2 separate regions of the Homo sapiens genome follow, and region 2 is linked to region 1. Evidence: promoter capture Hi-C in 16 types of primary human blood cells and fetal thymus (Javierre and others, 2016). All regions are on one chromosome and are shown on one strand. The core of a region is centred on a gene start or on the middle of the fragment in contact, and the rest is flanking DNA. Distances in the headings are between cores, read along the strand shown.

What was found. Contacts are between HindIII fragments. The CHiCAGO score rates a contact against its expected background, and 5 or more counts as called.
Region 2: a fragment that was not itself captured here is called in contact with the fragment with the promoter of SYK in region 1 in 1 of 17 cell types (neutrophils); the score reaches 5.3 in neutrophils.

Annotation. Positions count from the first base shown.
Region 1 is chr9:90,797,005-90,804,197 of GRCh38, forward strand. SYK (spleen associated tyrosine kinase) reads left to right here and starts at 4,815. Exons shown (of 14, transcript NM_003177.7): 1 at 4,815-4,889. RefSeq lists silencers at 4,564-4,773, 4,794-4,953. The HindIII fragment of the contact is 2,717 bases long and covers 4,013-6,729 here.
Region 2 is chr9:91,391,396-91,399,244 of GRCh38, forward strand. No RefSeq gene overlaps it. Among named protein-coding and RNA genes, the nearest start is that of NFIL3, 29 kb to the right of the region's middle. The HindIII fragment of the contact is 1,417 bases long and covers 4,484-5,900 here.

The DNA of each region.
Region 1 (7,193 bases), core at 3,565-6,064:
AACCAAGAGAAAATAACTAAAAAGAGTGAGATAGAGAGAACCAGAGACAAAGAAATAATTTGAGGACCAATAAACCTACCTACAGGTAAATTAGAAATAACAAGAAATAAAGCAGACCCAGCTAAACATTTAGTTCCCGAAAAAAAAGAAAGGGAGAGAGAGAAAATCACTGTGAACCAGGAAGAAAAAACAAAGTAGATTACTACAATCAGAGAAAAGATAATAGACTTAGATGATAAAAAGTTAATTAATATCCTTGAAGAAAAGCACTTAACAAATAAAAAGGTATTTAAAATCACACAAGAAAAAATTCTTTGAATGAAGATCTAAATCTGCGCATTACAATGGTGGATACACAGCATTATATATTTGTTAAACACCATACAATATACAACACCAAGAGGGAACCTCAATGCAAACTTTGGGCTTTGGGTGATTATGATGTGCATTAAAGAGTGCATTGTGTTTAAGAAATAAAAGATGGCCGGGTGTGGTGACTCCTGCCATCACTTTGGGAGGCCAAGGCAGGATGATCACCTGAGGTCAGGAGTTCGAGACCAGCCTGGCCAACATGGTGAAACTCTGTCTCTACTAAAAATACAAAAAATTAGCTGGGCTTGGTGGCGGGCGCCTGTAATCCCAGCTGCTCAGGAGGCTGAGGCAGGAGAATTGCTTGAACCTGGGAGGCAGAGGTTGCAGTGAGCCAAGATCACGCCATTGCACACCAGCCTGGGCAACAAGAGTGAAACTCCATCTCAAAAAAAGAAAAAGAAATAAAAGATGCTGGTTGATCTGTATCAGTATATATCCTTGTCAAGTTTCTTAATATCTCAGTTAAAGAAAGTTTCCTCCAGCAGCCTGGAAAGAAGAGCAAGTCACCTAAAAGAGGACAAAGGACTGGCTGTTCTCACATTTCTCCAAAACAACATTCAATGCCAAAGGGGCAAGGGAGGAAAATCAACCGAGTCTAGGCCAAAGGGAAGTAGGATGGAGACACAATGTGCCCACCTTGATGTCACTGCAATACAACAGCAACAGAATAACATCCTGAAAGTGGAGAGCATTGATAGATGCAGTATGTGGGATCACATCTTCACAGAGTCCATCCAGCTCATCAACAAAGAAAGTAGGAATGAGATATGGTGGTAGAAAGGTCTGGAGGTGCATAAGGTATCCTTTTAAATGGAGAACTAAGAAGAGACCACTGAGGGTTTATGGTTACAGAAATCAAAAATTTTAAACTTAACTATGTAAAACTCATATAACTAGGGAAACGTGAGAGGTGAGCTGAAGTGAAGTGGAGTGAGAGAGGTAATTGGTTCATGTATCATAGCAGAGTTACTGATACTGTCTGAAATTAAAGCTCATGGTTTAGAAGAAATGACGAAAACTGCTTATTATTGTCACTTTTCTTTTCCTTTAATCAAAGTGGGGTCATTTCAGAAATGATACATTTGTGGCAAAGAATCATTTCTATAAAATCAGCAATTCTTTAGATCCCATTTCAGAATTTTTTATTCTGTTAAATTTAAGTAGAATTAAATATCATATTTAACATGGATAAAATGTATAATAAATGTATTATATTTAAAATGATGCCCATTTTTATATCTATTGCCATGTGTACATATAGAAAGAGATAATTTTGTAAGGGTCACCTAACGGTAATGATGATTATGTCTGAAATTTGGGATGTTTCTATTTCCTTTGTGCTTTTATTCTTTTAAGGGATTGCCTATTAGGAATACTTGCCACTGTTACCAAAAAAACTATTTTTTTAAATTAAACACTATTTTTTAGAGCAGTTTTAGGTTCACAGTAAAAATGAGAGGCAGGTACCGAGGTTTCCCATATACCCACTGACCTCACACATGCACAGCCTTTCCCATTATCAACAGCCCCATCAGACTGGTACATTTGTTACAATTGATGAACCTACTTTGACACATCATAATCACCCAAAGCCTGAAGTTTACACTGATGTTCCCTCTTGGTGTTGTATATTGTATGGTGTTTAACAAATGTATAGTGCTGTGTATCCACCATTGTAATATCATACAGCATACTTTCACAGCCCTAAAAAATCTCTGTTCTCCTTCTATTCATCCTGCCCTCCCCACCAGCCCATGGCAGCCACTGATCTTTTTACTATCCAGATAGTTTGGCTCTTTCCAGAATATCACCTGTTGAAATTATACAGTATGTAGCCTTTTCAGAGGGCTTCTTTCACTTGGTAATATGCATTTAGATTTCATCCATTTCTTTTCATAACTTGCTAGTGCATTTCATTTTAGTGTGGAACAATATTCCATTACACTGATGTACAAGAGTTTATATATCCATTCACTTACTGAATGACATCTTGTTTGTGTCCAAGTTTTGGCAATAAACTTAGTAAATAAAGCCAGCGTAAACATTTGTGTGCAGATTTTTGTGTGAACATAAGGTTTGAACTCCTTTGGGTAAATACCAAGAAGCACAATTACTGGGTACTACTTTAGGTAAATACCAACTACTTTGGGTAAATACCAAGAAGGACAATCCTCTTATAATTACTCATGTTGTAAGAGGATGTTTAGTTTCATAAGAAACTGCCAAACTGTCTTCCACAGTGGCTGTACCATCTTGCATTCACAACAGCAATGAATGAGTATTTCTATTGCTTCACATCCTCACTAGTGTTCACTGCGGTCAGTGTTCCGAATTTGGGCCATACTGATATCTTACTGTCTTCATTTGCATTTCCCTGATGATACATAATGTGAACCATCTTTTAGGCTAGGCATGGTGGCTCACGCCTGTAATCCCAGCATTTTGGGAGGCCAAGGCAGGCAGATCACGAGGTCAGGAGATCGAGACCATCCTGGCGAACACGGTGAAACCCCGTCTCTACTAAAAATACAAAAAATTAGCCGGGCATGGTGGCGGGCGCCTATAGTCCCAGCTACTCGGGAGGCTGAGGCAGGAGAATGGCGTGAGCCCAGGAGGCAGAGCTTGCGGTGAGCTGAGATGATCGGGCCACTGTACTCCAGCCTGGGCAACAGAGTGAGGCTCCGTCTCAAAAAAAAAAAAAATTACTACATGATACTAAGTAATGCGGAAGGTGACTCAAAGGGGGAAAGGAACACAGCAGTGTAAAGGAAGGAGGTTGTAGATGGATCTAGAATTTCCCCCTCATTTCCATCAGGTGAAAGCCTGAGAAAACTGCAATCTTTGTGCAGGCTGGGTTTGCTTTGTACACACTGGTCCCCTAGTGTTCATCTCCAATAATGCTGACAACTCTGAAAACCATCTGTAGACATTCTGCAGGCTCCATCTCAGGAACAATGGCTATTTTTTCGGGTAGTTGAAGCAAAATTAAGTCCAATGATAAGCAAATATAACCATTATCAAAATCTTCCATTTATGTTTGTTAAAGCAACCTAAGTATGATCTGAGAAGGACTCTGTATTCTATATTTGAGTCCTTGTGGATGAACTGTAACCTAGCTTAATAGGCAGACAAGATTGAAAACCTAATTTAGGAGTATGTGCCTTTAACAATAGCTGAGTCTTGGCCAATCCCAGTGGCCATACTTCAACCATTCATACACTGCTGAGTGTTCAAACTGTGTTCAAAGAAGGCAAAAGCCAACCTGTAACCAATCCAGTTGTTTCTCTGCCTTACCTCCAATTTCTGTATGTCACTTCCCTTTTTTTGTCTATAAATATGTTCTGACCATGAGGCATCCCTGGAGTCTCTGAATCCGCTGTGATTCTGGAAGCTGCCCCATTCGCAAATCATTCATTACTCAATTAAACTGCTTTAAATTTAATTCTGCTGAAGTTTTCTTTTAACAGGTTTAGAAAAAATAATGGCAAAAATGAATGAAAATCCAATAACCCTGGAAGCAGAAAAGGCTGGGGGCTCCAATAAGTGTAAATAGTCCCATCCCTATATTTTCTCCATGGCAATTACAATCCAGCACATTATATATATATTTTTTTGCTTCTCGCATTTTGGCTTAGGGTAAAGCTTTTTAAAACAGGCACTGCCAACCAGTGTTATCAAGAAGGTCTGGATGCCGTTTTGTGGGAACATTTTAAAGAGGAATGTCCAAAAGGAAAAGGGGGATGGGTTGGGAGAAGGGTATCAGGCGGGTATCTCAAAACCATTCTTAGGGCTATAGGTTTAATTTATTTGGTTGTGGACGTCAGAGCCGTCATGGTAAGAAGGAAGCAAAGCCTTTTGTAATAATTAAAGCCTTCAGAAGCAGCGTGCCCCATTGCCCACTAGTGCGCCGTGAAGTCTGGTGTTCACCTACAGGGTCCCTCTCAGCACTGCCCAGGCCTCCCGAGTGCTCCAGCACAGTAGCTTGGAGCTTGTTGGTTTGGTGACCAAGATACACTCCAGGGAATATGCCATGCAGTGGAGTCTCTTCCCCGGCACTGCATAGCAAAAGGAAAGGGCCGCTGGGTGTCTGTGGGTCCTGGGCAGTCACAGAAGCCACCGCGCTGGCGGGGAGGAGGGGGACCGATGCGGTCCATGTCCCGGGCAGCCCCACCTTCTCTGCCTGCGAAGGGCCCTTGTCCGGCGGGAGGAGAGAGGCGCGCCCCACCCGGGCTCCTCTACACCTGCCGCCGCCTGGGCCGATTCCGCGGGCCTCGCCCGGCGCTTCAGCCGATTCCCGCCCAGCTCCGGGCTCATGGGCGCGGTCAGCAGGGCGGGCCAGGGCGGCGGGGCGCGACACTGGGAGGAAGTGCGGGCCGCCTGCCCGGGCGCGTTAAGGAAGTTGCCCAAAATGAGGAAGAGCCGCGGGCCCGGCGGCTGAGGCCACCCCGGCGGCGGCTGGAGAGCGAGGAGGAGCGGGTGGCCCCGCGCTGCGCCCGCCCTCGCCTCACCTGGCGCAGGTAGGTGTGGCCGCGTCCCCTACCCGGCCGGGACTTTCTGGTAAGGAGAGGAGGTTACGGGGAACGACGCGCTGCTTTCATGCCCTTTCTTGTTCTACCTTCATCGGCCGAGGTAAAAGTGCTGAAACCATGTGAATAAAATACAGGTGGGTTCCGCCAGCTTCGCTCCTGAACCTACCCGCGCTCGGGATCCAGAAGCTGCGCCGGGAGAGAGGGGCTCAGGCCTGGGCGGAGGGGACGGAGGTCAGACCGTGCGGAAAGTGACCCGGGCACCCCAGGGCGCCCAGGCCCCCAGGGAGCGCGGAAAGTGCGGTCGCGGCCCGGCCCTCGGGAGACGCGGGATTGGGATCAGGCACAGCGCGAGGAAGTCGATCTTGGAGCTAGAACATTTTCCTTTGGCCATTTACACGAATCCACTGGAAAATGCCGCAGTGTTTATCAAAGTTACTCAAAGTAGAAATGTCCAGACGTCTTATGAGCTTAGACAAATCTTTTACTACAAAAAGAAACAGCAGTTGCATTCAAACAACAACCCTTCTGAACCACTACTAAAATTTAGCATAATTACTCTTGTGGATACATTTTCATTGTCAAGTAATTTACTTAGCCAATGAACTTGGAGAGCAAGAAAGTTTTATGTAGTAAAATGTAAATTTGAGTTAAGAGTTAAGGGTGTTTCTTTTTGTCTGTTTGTCTGTTTTTGGCAATGTGGCTCCAAAACCTTAAGCCCACCTAAAAACTATATAAATGCAATCCATTCTTTTGTTGGAATGTTCAAGGACTAGAAAGACAATTGGAGAAGTGAGAGTTTGAATCTTTTTTTACGTTGGAAACAGTGTTGCAAAATATTTTTTGAGTTTTGCCTGACTTAGCAAAGATTCAGTCGAACTCAAGTAGAGTTCAAAGCATTGCAGCGTGTAGTAAAAAAAAAAAAGAGTTGAAGATGTTGTGCCATATCTGATTCTTGGTATTAAAAATAAAAAAAGGAACCATTTAATCCCTAAGAGTTCCTGGAAGAAATGGAATTGATTCTACCATCTGACTTCTTTGTCTTAGTAGGGACAAATTCATTGCCTTCACACAGGCAGCATTTTAATTAAATGCAACTAAATACATTGATGTCCTCCTTCTCCCCAGTGAAAGTCCGAGCAGTGCATAGATAGAATTATATTTTCTCAAAAAGGCTTAAATACATGTAAATTATTAAGTGTTTTAAGTGAGAAATCTTTGTCAGTTGAAATTATTTTATCAAATCATTTTTGTTCTGAACGGCACTTTTGTTTTAACGTATTTAGAAAACTCTTGCATTAAAACAGAAATTGATTTGTATTATCCCCTGTATTTGAAGTGCACTTTAAAGTGTATTTGAATGAGAGATTATAATCAAATTACTTGATTTGTGTCTTATCCTCTTACTCTTCTACCTTGGATTTGAAAAGGTTGGATTTGAACACTAGGAAAAAAGAGATTTTTCTACTGAGGGATTGTGGGAAGATTTTTTTTTAAGCCTCTGTATTTGAAGTGAAATATAAAATAGGATTTTATAATAGTCTTAATAACTAGAAAGTTTTAAGCTAGGATAAAAATGGGGTGTATACTTTAGGTCTTTATCTTTCCTGAGAGATGAAATTGGTAGAAACGTTATTTTATTGCTAGATTTCACTTTAGAAATGAATCACCCTGATCTTTGTTAGGCCCCTATTTAATATTCTAAATGCAGGTCTAATCTCTCTGCTTTTTTTTAATGGAAGACTTCTTAGTAGAACTTCACTTATTTAGCACATTGTTTGCCCATGGTTATAATCCAATATGCTTGTGCCAAGACGTATTTTGGAATTCAAGCTTTTTCAGAATTTGGAATTAAAATTTAGAATCTAAATTTCAGAACTGAGAAAGACATTGCTCAGAATTTAGAAAGGTAAACATACATGTTGACCCTGCTGGTTACATGCCATTCCAATATAGTCTGGAGAGAATCCTGTAATTCCATGCATTAATATTTCTGTACTTTTACATTTAAGAACATGAATATTCTCACTAAGTGGAATAAATAAAGACTATAAAGAGCTGTGTGTCTGTTTAGAGCAGGTGTTATCACTACGAGAGCTTCTCTAAGACTTACCAAAAAAAAAAAAAGTGTTGTTTTTCAGAGCTTTTTAGAGCTGCAGCTGAGGGACTGAGTCTGTATTAGACTCCACTGAACTACGGTTTGCTTTTAAAAGGAAAGTGCATTTATGTTGTTCAATACTTCACACTTTCCAGTAATTAGAAGGGCAGTTCCTCTCTCTTTAGGGAGTCTTAAAT
Region 2 (7,849 bases), core at 3,942-6,441, 590 kb after region 1:
CCTTTGGCTCTAGGTTTTTGCTTCTTGTTTTCACTCCTATGGATTTGGTTAGGCCTGCGTTGAGTTTTAACCTGGATTTATTTCCTAAATTCTTGTTTAATGCCTTTTCTACACTAGACTGTGAGTCAGTTTTTCATAGTCTTCCTAGGCTGGAGGTTTTCCTTTAAGTATGGCTTTGATTTCAGAGAGTCTTTCTGCAGTGTGACCTCGTTTTCCTGTTAATTTAGTTGGGATTCATCCCATACTCATCACCAACTTGACATTACCAGCCAAGTAGTTGCAGAGGTCACAGAACAGAAAGTCTCACCGGACAAGTTAAACTCTTCCAGGCACTTAATGTATTAAGTCAATTTAAAACACACACGGAGATGCAAGGGAAAAGAAATACGGTTAGTTAGCAGACTTAGTGTAGGGTGTGAGCAGGATGAAGGGCCAGGCTCTCTGAATCCTGGTACATGACAGTGTTCATGTGGTGTGTCTGTCATTTGTCTCTGTCTCATCAGCTGTCCCTATAGATGATGTTATAAGGACTAGTGTTGAGGTTTGAGCCAGGGTGCCCAACCATAGGAGGTGCCTGGCACCAAGGCGGCAAGGATGCCTGGCCACTTGACAGCTTGTCAATTAGCCTGCTGAGCAGATAAGGGTTTTATTTGCTTTTCTTAGACAGAGAACAGGTAGGGCCAGAAAGGGTGTCACTGATGGGTGGTTGAATTCAAACCTCATGAATATGTATTGCCTCAAGTGCCTCCTGTATATTTAGAGTAATATATGTTGGGTATCTCTCAGTCCATTCTCTCACGCTTTGCTTGCTAACAACTTTTCTTTATCTAACGTATCTTGAGAATTTTGTGGATGTCTTCCAAGCTACATACTTACTACTCATCTATACTTCTATCTTAAGTTTCTTCCTTTCCATTTTTTTCCTTCCATAGCAGAATTGAATATTAACAAACACCACCAAAACATGCACGTAATGCTATGCATTTTATACTCTACTACCCCAACCTGTTGAGCAACGGGACTAGGGAGGGAGACAAAGCCAACATTCATTTATGTGTTATCTCAGGTTCTCTTCTATTACTTTTATTACTAACACCACTATTAGCAAACATGGCTTTCCATCTGCAGGCCAAATGAGCCTGCCAATACCAGGTTCTAGAATAAGATCTACTTGCTTGATCACTGGTAGAACTGGACAACTGCTGTAGCTGATAAACTGTTTGCTTCCTCATCTTTGTGGGGAGCTGGTGCCCTAAGACTCAAGGCACAGAGGAGCAGAGAATGCATGCTTCCCCAGATAGGTAGACCCCAGAGGGAGATGGAAAGGAAAGGGGCTAGGCCACAAGGCCTAGAAAAGGAAACAAAAAAATAGTTGCAAGCATTTGATCACATCGGAATATGAACATATGTGATAATTTTCTGAAGACAAGAAATTATTAAAGCCAGAAAAACAACATTTAAATTAAGCATAGTAGTAAGTAAATTTAGCTTCTTAAAAATGAGAGACTTGTGCTTCAAGTGACTCAAGAAATCAGTATACTCATGCCTGTAATTGCAGCACTTTGCTGCAGGCCGAGGCGAGTGGATCACCTGAGATCAGGAGTTCAAGACCAGCCTAGCCAACATGGTGAAACCCGTCTCTGCTAAAAATACAAAAATTAGCTGGGTGTGGTGGTGGGCTCCTGTAATCCAAGCTACTCAGGAGGCTGAGGTAGGAGAATCACTTGAACCCGGGAGGCAGAGGTTGCAGTGAGCTGAGATTGCGCCACTGCACTCCAGCCTAGCAACAGAATAAGGCTCCTTCTCAAAAAAAAAAAAAAGAAAATAAATCAGTATAAAGCTACAAACAGAGGACAGCATCTTAGAGGTTGACTCTTGTGAGTTAAGAGTTCACTGTGCGGTTGTATAGATTTATACACACACACACACACACACACACACACACACACAAGACAGAGGAATTGATTTAGCATAGGAATTGGCTCACGTAATTATGGAGGCCCAAGGAGTCCCACAATTTGTTGTCTGCAAGCTGGAGACTCGGGAAAGCCAGTGATGTAAATCAGTTTGAGTTTGAAGGCCTGAGAATCAGGAACAGTGAAGTGACGGTGTCAGTCTCGGAGTCCAAATGCCGGAGAACCCAGAGTGCTGATGTCTGAGGCCAGGAGAAGATGGATGTCCTAGCTCAAATGGAAGAGATCAAATTCGCCCCTCCTCTGCCCTTTTGCTCTGTGTGGGCCCTTAACAAATTGGATGATGCCCACTCACACTGGGAAGAGCTACCCTCTTTACTCAGTCTACCAATTCAAATGGTAATCTTTTCCAGAAACACTCTTACAAATACACCCGGAAATAATGCTTTACCAGCATCTGGGTGTCCTTTAAGTCCAGTCAAGTCGATACCTAAAATTAACCATCATGGCGGCCAACCGACTAAGTCTGCATGAGGAGGTAGTAGAGCCCTGGGGCTCACCGGCAAGTAAGAGGCACATTGCTTGCCTCCTCCACCGCCATCGAAATGTGTTGATTATATGTAACTTTGAGCTGTTAAATGTAATTCCACTGCAATTACATCATGAAACTGAGACAGTATGATGGGTTACTGACAAAAGTAAAATGGGTGTGAAAATGCCTCCATATGGAGACTCCATATGTGCATATGTTTTTTGTGTAGGTTTGCATATATAAGCACTTTTAATATGGAAAAATACACATTAAACCACTTCACATTGGTCATCTTGGGGGGATCAGATTGGGGAAGGGGAAGTTTTAAATTTTTCTTTCTATACTTCTATATTATATTTCTTTTATATTTTTATAACGTTAAAAATATCGTAAAAACCTCCTTCTCCACTTGAGTCATGTTCGAATGAAATCCCACTTACCAAGTCTGAACCGTCTTGGCGCACCATTATTAACTGAATGGTGCTTTGCATTTCTGAATGGCCTACTGTTGGAAAAAAAATCGGGAACCCTAACAACCGGCTGGATTTGAGGAATGGATAGAGCAGGTAGGAGGTACCTTACCTTTATTAAAATGCCACAAACACTTATTGTGTAAAGTTAAATAAGTCACTATTAAGAGCTGAATTGTCTTCCTCAAAATTTGTAAGTGGAAGTCCTAACACCTGGTACTTCAGAATGCGACTATATTTGGAGACAGGGTCTTTAAAGAGGCAATTGAGTTAAAATGAGGTCAGTAGGGTGGGCCTTCACCCAATCTGACAGGTGTCTTTATAAAAAGAGAGAGTTAGAGGACACAGACACACACAGAAGACCATGTGAAGATGCAGGGAGAAGACGTCATCTATCTGCAAGCCAAGGAGAGAGGCTTCAGAAGGAGCCAACCCTGCCAACACCTTATCTTAAACTTCTAGCCTCCAGAACTACAAGAAAATAGATTTTTTGTTGTTTAAGCCTCCAGACTGTGGGACTTTGTTACAGCAGCTCTAGAAAACCAAAAGAGCCACAAATACTCATATATAGTATGTCTTCATTCTAATGGTACATTAAAAAAAAGATTACTGCCTCATATTGATGTTTAACCATGTGTTTGATGTTCCTGCTTTTTAACTTTTAAAGATTCTTTTATAATTCCTTGCATTTTACCCTCAGAATAATCCAATGCATTCAGAGAAATCAGGTATTCTTATTTTACAAGTGAAGAAACTGAGGCACAGAAGGATTAAGTGACTTGACCAAAGTCTTCTAGCAAGTGGTCTCCTGAACCGACAGCCTTTCTATGTACCACATTCAACCTATCAAATGGAGTATTTCACAATAACTGTCTCTGCTGGTGCTTATTTCCACATAGGTCACATTCATTCAGCAAACATATTGAGCAACTAGTTTGTGTCTGTCTTTCTTAGGAGTTGAGGAGACAATGACGGAGAGGACACAGTCCTGCTTTTGAGGAGCACATGGTCTAGGTGTGTTGACAGACACATGAACAACATTTTATATAATGTGAGAAACACTATAATCACAGCATGAGTACGGCATTGTAGGGACACCACTGAGAATGTCTTTACAGATGTGGTAGAAACTGAGTGGGTCTTGAAGAATTCAAAGGAGTTTGTCAGACAGGGATGGGGATTCCCAATGGAAGAAGCTTCATGTGCAGAGGCCCAGAGTTGTGCAAGGTGGGAACAAGGACGCTGAGGATGGAAAAGAGATTGGAGTGTGGCAGTGCAGGGAGGGGGAGATTTCATACTTGTCTACTAAAAACGTTAGATACCTTTAGCTTTATGACAAACTCACTGTTTTGTGGTTCTTCATTTTTCACTAGTTTCACCAAGACAGACTTTTTTGGGGGCCGTTCCTATAGATCTTACTTCTCACATTTTAATGAGTATGATGTATCACCTGGGGATTTTGTTAGAGTGCAGATTCTGATTCTGAGAGGGGCCTGCTAGTCTGCATTTCTAGAAGATTCCATGTCAGATTCTCGCTGCTGGAGCCTGGACCACACTTTGAATAGCAAAGCTTAGTCTGTAAAGTAAGAAATCAGAAGATTGGGTTGACCACATTTGTATTTTAGGAAGTTAAACCAGACAAACATGTGTAAAACTGGTTGTAAGCGACTTGCTGCTGCAAGTCACAAAACAAAAGTTCTGCGGATATGTATCCTGTGGGTTATGACTCATTTCAGGAATTCCTCAAATGGCAAGAATACCTCAAAGATTCATGAAATATGCATTATTTGAATGTACTATGTATGTTTCTTCCTAATTTAATACTTTAGTCCTAGTATAGAAGTGGAATTTTAGTAGAATTCTTATAAGTAAGTAGTATGTTTCAATTACAGGATATCTACAGCAAAAAATAAAATGACTTAAAAATAATACAAATAAAACCAGCAGTAGTTGACTTGGTGCCATCTTTTCTCAGGAACGTGAGTAATGACTGGGTCCCATACATGGAGAACAGATTGCTCCACGCAAGGCCTATTAGAAGTTAACACCAAAGCAGATGTTCTTGAAGCTACTGTTACCATTATAGATGCAAATCCAGACAAGCTGTTCCCATTTTATAGGAAAAAAAATGTAATAATAAATTACCATACTTACCTTAATGGCTTAATAAGAATTCATTAGTGAGCATTCATAAAAGAGGATAAGAAGTTTAAAAATGTACTGCTTAAAATAATTAATACTTTTATCACATCAGAAGCCTAAGACATAGTAAGCAATAGCAGATGGTAATTTTAATATCTTACAAATATCATGAAGGCTGCTGGAACCCAAGGTAGAAAACTGCAAAATACAATGACTTTGGGGTCAGTTGTAATTATAAAGAAGCTCAAAGGTCAGAGACCAGATGGAATCCCTCTCAAGTTTAATCCAGAGATGTTTCTCACAAAGAATTTAATAGGTGATTGCTTTCCCTCAAAGCCTATTTGAATGCTAGCCCTGAAAGAATTTACAAATTTTAAAGGGGGAACTTGGCCGGGCACGGTAGCTCACACCTGTAATCCCAGCACTTTGGGAGGCCTAGGAGAGTGGGTCGCCTGAGGTCAGGAGTTCGGGACCAGCCTGGTCAACATAGTGAAACCCCGTCTCTACTAAAAATACAAAAAAAAAAAAAATTAGCCTGGTGTAGTGGCACATGCTTGTAATCCCAGCTACTCAGGATGCTGAGGCAGGAGAATTCGCTTGAACCTGAGAGGCGGCGGTTGCAGTGAGCCAAGATCACACCATTGCACTCCAGTCTGGGCAACACAAGCGAAACTCCGTCTCAAAAAATTATAAAATAAAATAAAATACAGGGGGATCTTATATTCTTTGGCCTTATATTCTATAAGGAGCTTTCTGGTGCCTTGAATCAACACAATTCCTGATGGATTCAAAGCCAAACTTTATGTAGTTTCCCATTGCCTCATTAAACTGCTCAGTGGTAGAAGCTTTTTCCTGTCCACTGGAAGAACACTAAGGCAGGCTATGACTTTCCTTGTTCATTTTTAGGTAATAAACAAGTCTTAGGCATGTTATAAGACAAACATAGCCTCAATTTTAAAATATAGTGCAGGTGTCAAAAATAGTTCAAAACTGGAAACCATCTATAAGGCTATCTTAGCCATTAAAATCCAAGCTGGTGAGAAGAAATAGGGAGAAGAAGAAATAGAGATGTGTGTATATTTTTAACATTTGGAAACATCTAAAAGCTTTAAACTGGGATGTCAAAATGTGCCTTACCTTTTTTTTTTTTTGTAAAAACCCAATTAGCTGATCAAGTATATGAAAAGCTGCCATTCCTCTACCTCCAATCCCTCCTCATACAAAGCAGTGGTCTTTACTGGGGTCCAAGGATGATGCCCAGTATGTTTACAAAATTATCCTTTGTGATGCAGGGAGAATATTGGAATTATTTTTCATATTTATTTGTCTGAAAATGAGATACATTAAGCTTTAATAATATTTATTTTATTTATTCCTGTTTTTGAGACAGTTCTCGCTCTGTCACCCAGGCTGGAGTGCAGCGGCTCACTGCAACCTCCGCCTCCTGGGTTCAAGCAATTCTCGTGCTTCAGCCACCTAAGTAGCTGGGATTATAGGTGTGTACCACCACACCCAGCTAATTTTTGTATTTTTAGTAGAGATAGGGTTTCAAACTTCTGGCCTCAAGTGATCTGCCCACCTTGGCCTCCCAAAGTGCTAGGATTATAGGCATGAGCCACCCCACTCAGCAAGGTTTATTAATATTTAATATTCTAACTGACTTTAGTACCTGCACTTTCTCATCGAATAGAAGGATGGGTGGATGGATGGATAAAAAGATAGGTAGATAGATAGATAGATGTATGATGTATGTATGGGTAGATAAGTAAATAGATAACAGCTAGATGGATGAGTTAATGGGTGGATAGACAGATGATAGATGGATGATAGATGGTTGATAGATAGGGAGGAAAGTAGATAATAGATACATAGATAGATGTACTTTTTTCTTTTCTTTTCTTTTCTTCCTTTTTTCTTTTTTTTTTTTAATAGCTAGGACTGTGGGATAAACAAAAGTTGGAAACCACTGGTCTAAAATACTAGGACATTTTTGTTTTGCATTTCCAGAATCTGGCAAGGTACTACTTAATTTATTCAAGTTGTTTTCAAGGGGTACCATTTAAGAGGGCTGATTTTTAGATGGAAAGAACAGTAATGCCAGTAGTACACAGATATTATCTAACCTAGAAAATGATTGTCTTGAAAAGGTAGTCCTAATTTTCTTGTATCAGAATTTACTTTGAATAATGCTACAGGAAAAGAGCTGTATGATGGATGCCAGGGCAGGCGCGTGCTGTAGACGTGGAAGCAGAAGAGCACCCAGGATATGGGGTGATGAAGAATGTTGTCACAGAGTAGGGAAGAGCAGAACTCTTTTACCAGGTAGAAGCCCAATACCACACACACACACACACACACACACACACACACACACGAAAAAGAGGAGCACTAATGAGAGGAGAACTGGGCCTTGAGACCTAGGCTTTCATGCCCCCTTCTTTTGCCTCCCAGAGGCCAGTAAAGCCTCTCTGTGGGCTTCCTGGGTTCCAGGGAGAACAGTTCACATCAGTGGTATGAAATCACGGCTTTCAAGACTTTGCTTCAGCAGAGACCTATCATAAGAGATGCATTTTACATTGGAAATGCAAACATGTCAGGATGTGTGTTTCTTGAAACTGCAGCTTGACTTGCTACCTTGAATGCACTGCCATGTCATCTGTTCCTGCATCTGAAATGCTGGCTAGTGTCCCTGGCATTCATGGCACAAGCCAGTGCAGTTGCAACCCACAGTCTGGAATTCACAGAGAATGGGAGATACGCTAGGAAAGGTTAGTATCAGCTGAAATGTTAAG